Linked DNA regions of Homo sapiens: region 1 is linked to region 2. The links are contacts of gene promoters, found by promoter capture Hi-C in blood cells and fetal thymus (Javierre and others, 2016). All regions are on one chromosome and are shown on one strand. The core of a region is centred on a gene start or on the middle of the fragment in contact, and the rest is flanking DNA. Distances in the headings are between cores, read along the strand shown. Region 1 has its middle 72 kb from the start of LINC02420. Region 2 holds the start of DYRK2 (dual specificity tyrosine phosphorylation regulated kinase 2).

Region 1 (2,700 bases), core at 126-2,625, 280 kb after region 2:
GCATTAAAACATATGTAAAAATTAAAATATATGAATATATGACTACAATAGCACAAAGGGTAAGAGGCAGTAACTACAGTTAAACCATCATAAGCTTTTTCATTGTTTGGGTGAAGCTTAAGGAAGGTGTTTTATAGTTAGTCAGGAATGCATTTTAAAATTTCTAGGGTAATCACTAAAAATAAACACAAGAGTGCATACTTAAAAAGTTAACTGAGCAGAAAAACTTAACCAATATCCCTGATGACTAAACCTTTCTCAGATCTACAATTCAATGTATAACAGTTGGCCCTAGAACATGACATTTTATTACATTCCCCCTGTTGGTTCCTGTGCTCACTCATTTCATGCCCACTGCAGTAGAACTTAGAAGAACATCCAGCAAATTTTTTTACAAATTGCTCATAGCTGTAATTATTAAGTACCACACATTATAAAAATACAAATCTATTCAGAGGCCACTAAAGAAAAATAAACAAGCATAAGCATAAATAATATCTAGCAATGAATAGAGAGGAAGAAGATAAATTTTTAGTATCAGTGCAGTGTTCCCAAGGGCACCTTCTATCATAAAACAAAGTAGAGGCCAATGAATACAGAAGAGTTTTCTCATTATCTCAGGCTTTCCCTGAATGAAACTATTAACTCTTACAAATCACAGACTCCTGTAGGAAGTGAACCACTGCTGTATCAAAAACAGGAATGAGATCACCAGATTTTCTTTCTCAACTTTGCATTCTGACAACAATCCCAGGCTCAGAGATTCGGAGGGATGGTTTACTGACATTTTGACAAGAGTCATGGTAACTACTACTACCACTGCTGATGCCGCTGCCATCCCTGTGCCTGCTGTTGATACTAACACTTGTTTGGCACGTTAGTTTGTAAAATATGTCAATATGCATTATTTCTTTACAGAAGTCCTAGGAGAAACATATCATAACATCTTCTTATTATCATACATAAGCTTATATGTGATAAGAAAACTGCAGTTCTAAATAAAGAACTTGTACATTTTGGGACATGTTTGCTACATGGCAAGCATTATCTAATACAGCAACCAAAATTAATATTCTGTCAGTGCTATTGTAAAACTGTTCAGGCAAGCAGTTGGCTTTCTATCTCTAACAGCCATCCAGCTTGTTCAATATCACAGGCCTAAATCCAAATTTTATCCTTCATAAGAAATAAAAACCAAATACAATGAAAGATGAAAGTAAATAATAGTGAAAGGAATCAAAGGGTTACAGTTACATGCAATGAAGACCTCAGTTGTTCATTTAACAAAGCTAGAACTATCCAAAATACACAGAGCTTTATGTGAAAATGACGAGAATTGAATACGATGAGAACTGATGCTCTTCATTTCAGAGATATATTACCCAAAGCAAGTCAACCCTGAAAGATGGGACATGTAGAAGCGATTAGAAGACAACATGCAATAATGCCCTTTATGGCTATTTATTTAATGTGTGTTCCCAACCTGCCACTTTAAACTTAATCCTCACTTTTATCTCTAGTAGATAGTACAGAATCTGGTATATATCAGGTTCTCAAAAGAATATTTCTGAATAAATAAGACTTGCCTAACCTTGTAATTCTACCTTAGCACTATCTCACTACTGTTTCTCGTAGATGTTTCTTATCAGCTTCTTGGAGCACAAGGGCCATGCTAGCTGCCACCTGATTCCCCAACAGCAAATATGTCTATGTGTGCATGTGCATGCACATGTGTGTGTATTGTATGTGTGTTTAAAGATGGTGAATGTGTCAGTAAGCTTTCAAACAATAGAGTAGACAGAAGTAAAGAAGTTGAAAATAAGGAGAAAGAGGGGATAATAGAATGAAAACTTTTTTTTAACCCTGACTTGAACACAGCCACAATAAAAGAATTTTTTTAGACAAATTAGGAAATTTGAATATGAAGTGGCTATTAGATGATACCAAGGAATAATTATTAATTCTGTTAGGTATGATAATGTCATTGTGGCTACACAAGAATATGTCTATTTTCTTTTTCTTTTTTTTTTTTTGAGATGGAGTCTCGCTCTGTCACTCAGGCTGGAGTGCAATGGCGCGATCTCGTCTCACTGCAACCTCTGCCTCCTGGGTTCAGACGATTCTCCTGCCTCAGCCCCCCTAGTAGCTGGGATTACAGGTATGCGCCACCATGCCCAGCTAATTTTGTATTTTCAGTAGAGACAGGGTTTCACCATGTTGTCCGGGCTGGTCTTGAACTCCTGACCTCAGGTGATCTGCCCACCTCGACCTCCCAAAGTGTTGGGATTACAGGCACGAGCCACAGTGCCCAGGCAAATATGTCTATTTTTTAAAAACATACAAACTAAAATATGTAAGATGAAAAGCCAAGGTGCCTGGCCAAATCTAGTAATTGTTGAATCTGGATAATAGATACATGAGTTTATTATTCTACTCTCTATATTTTCACATATGTATGCACAGTTAATAATAAAGAATTTTAAAAAATACTATTAGTCCTTCACATTTTACAATGAATAGATTCCAACAAAGGGTAGGAAGGACAACATAAAATCACAAGAACACGGTTCAAGATCAAGATCTAGCACCTTAGAAAAATGAGTCTCAATAAGAGTCTCAGCTTCCTCATCGGCACGGTAGAGATAAATGATCTCTGACATATTTTAAGTGACTAGGCTATTGTAATTTTCAAATAAGAAA
Region 2 (2,723 bases), core at 119-2,618:
CCCAACTTAACCAGGGCGGCGTCGACGAGAGACCATCGGCCCGAGGCGTGGGGCTGCTTGTATCTCGACCCCTCTTCTCCCGGCGTCAGACCCCTCCAAGTCCGGGTGCTTCGGCCTGGGGCCCCTCCCGCCCCCACCGCCCGGGCCGCCCGCGGGCTGGGTCTCACCGTGTGGGCTGCGGCGGCAGCGTTGCTGGCCCGGAGAGGCGGCAGGGCGATGGGGGAGGGCGGGCCAGTCCCCACTCCGCTCCGGGTGGCCCCTGCACCGAGCCCCGGGGAAGCCTGAAGCTGACGAACGGCGCTGTCCCCACCTCGGCCTGGAAGCCACGTGCGGGAGGAGACAAAAGAGGGTCAGGGGGGAGAAAGTCACCCAGACCCCCCCTCCAACCCCGCTGGGCAGCGACAACCCTCTTCCAAAGAAAGACGGAGGAAGAGACCGGGGCAGTAAAAACGGGCGTTCGGGTCACGGCTCCCCAGCGCACACCCACGGGCGGGGCGCGGGCAGCTGCAAAGTTAAGTGGGGCCCTGGCGCGCGAGTTCGCGACCCGGCGGGGGAGCCGGGCCGCGCCGGGGCTAGGCGGCCCACGTTGCAGACGGCCAGCAGCCGGGAGGTGGGTTTGGACAGCTGAGCAGGGAGCCACGGCCACGCCAAGCCCCGGGCAGCGCAGGGCGGGGCGGCAGGCCTGGACGGTCCCCGCCCGGGCCCCCGGCAGGCAGAAGCCTCTTCGGGCCGAGGGCTCCCCGCGGAGGGGCCTTCGGGGCCGCGCACAACCCTGCATGGAGCCCGGGGCGCGTCGTCCGCCCGGGGGCTCCCCCGCGCCGCGCCGCCGACTTTGTTCGAGGTCCCGCAGGCAGCGGCCGCCCGCGCCACAGGGGCTGCCCAGGGCCGGCGGGGGTCCGGGGATGCGGCGCGGCGGCACGGCCTCCTTACCGGTCGGGTAGGCGGCGGGAGCGGCGGCCGAAGGTTTCCTGGTTAACATGGCCGCTGGAGAGGAAAATGCATTTCAGGGCTGCCGTCGCCGCCGCCGGTCCTGCTGCTACTTCTGGCGGCCGCCGCCGCCGCCTCCCGGCCGCCCCTCGCGCGGGTCCCCGGCGCCTCGTCGCCGCCTCGCGTCTGCTACAGCCAGACACACACAGTCCACTGCATCCCCTCGGCCGGGGCCCGCCGCCGCGAGCCCCCCGCTCTCCTCCTCGCCGCCGTCCTCCTCTTCCTCGGGCGGCTGCAGCACCCTCCGGCCCGTGCACATGCCTCGCCCTCCCCTGCGCGCCGCGGGCCTCCCCGTCTCCCTCACATAGGGGCGCGGGGAGCTGGAAGCGCTGCGAGGACCGAAGACCGCCTGGCTCGGGAGCCTCTCCCGGGCCCGCGCGCGCGCGCCCCCGCGCACTCACACACAGGCGCCGGCGCGCGGCCCCGCCCCCGCCGCCCTCCGCCGCCCTCCTCCGCCGCCGCAGGCCCCGCCCCCGGCTCCCCCGGCCGCGGCCACGCACACCCCACCCCCACCCAACCTCCCGCCCGGCTCCTCTCAGTCCCCCGGTTTGCGCGCAGCCGCCCCTCCGCTCCCCGGAAAACTCGGCGGCCTCCGCTCGCCCTCCTCCGCCCCCTCCGGCCATCTGCACTGCTTCCCTCGGCTCCACTCCGGCGACCTTTTCCCCTCCCCGGCCCCGCGGCGCCCCTTCTCTGCCCTACAGCTCAACCTACCGCTGCTGCCCTCCGGCCGAAAGCGCCGCAGAGACCCCTCCCCTGCCATGCGCACCCCTAAACATAAATGCATTTTCAGCTCTTCGAACTGAATGGCTGCTCACAGACAGTACTGCTTCCCCGTCCCCCCATTCTTGGTCCCAGCGACTTAGCCACTCCCCTCTCCCCAATTCATCATGTAGATAACTTAGTTGTGCGAGGGTCACCTCGGAGAGGCAAGTCCCGGGAGGGGCGGCCGCTGAGCTCGTTGACCCTGAGCAGGGGCGAAAGAGGGGGCTGCCCTCCCACCTCCACCACACACCCTCCCCGGTTTACTGACACCAAGTGACCGCTCGCCAGTCGCTAGGACAAGGGGAGGCAGAGAGGCGCGTGTGGACGGCAGCTGGGGAAGCAGTTGGCTGTGGGTTGCTAGGCAAAAATAAACATCAGAGACATCTCCTATTTCCTTACAACTCCGAGCCTTTCCCCTGCGCGGCCACTGGGAGAGACACACCTTCCTTTCAGCTCTGCGGTGAGGGAGCGACACCTCGAATTCCTCTCACCCCACCCGACACATCTCTTTCCCCCTTCCCTTCCAAGACACGTGGAGAATTTCCCTGCCTTTTTTATTCGCCATATACAACCTCTCTTTTCCTTGAAGACCAAAAAAAAATTGCTTTCCCGTCTCACATCCGCGCCTCGTCGTGCGTGGCACACAGTGCGCCTCTGTTCAAAGGTCACAGGTTTTGCCACTTCAACTGTGAGAGGAGGTGGGGTGGGAAAGCCCGACAAATCCCGGATGACGGGGCAGAGTTATGCCATGCACTTCCTTCTCGAGAGGTGCCTAGTTTCTGAAGTTCTCTTGGGGCCAGGGGTCCATTATGCTCTGCCCCGCCCGAGTATCTCTGGCTCCTGGCTGGACCTACTGTGCAGGCCCGAACTAGTGCAGACTCCAGTCGGAAGGGAGCCACCTCCTGCGGAGTTTCATCCACTCTACTGTTTGCAAATTGTCATAGCAACCTCCTACAGAGCGCATCCGCAGCTTT

Evidence for each region. The method cuts DNA at HindIII sites, captures the fragments that hold promoters and counts their contacts. A CHiCAGO score of 5 or more calls a contact.
Region 1: a fragment that was not itself captured here is called in contact with the fragment with the promoter of DYRK2 in region 2 in 1 of 17 cell types (M2 macrophages); the score reaches 5.4 in M2 macrophages.

Annotation. Positions count from the first base shown.
Region 1 is chr12:67,368,729-67,371,428 of GRCh38, reverse strand. No RefSeq gene overlaps it. Among named protein-coding and RNA genes, the nearest start is that of LINC02420, 72 kb to the left of the region's middle. The HindIII fragment of the contact is 811 bases long and covers 970-1,780 here.
Region 2 is chr12:67,647,390-67,650,112 of GRCh38, reverse strand. DYRK2 (dual specificity tyrosine phosphorylation regulated kinase 2) reads right to left here and starts at 1,368. Exons shown (of 3, transcript NM_006482.3): 1 at 931-1,368; 2 at 168-316. The coding sequence starts at 979. RefSeq lists silencers at 1-365, 526-1,185, 1,196-1,495, 1,596-1,705. The HindIII fragment of the contact is 7,364 bases long and covers 1-2,723 here.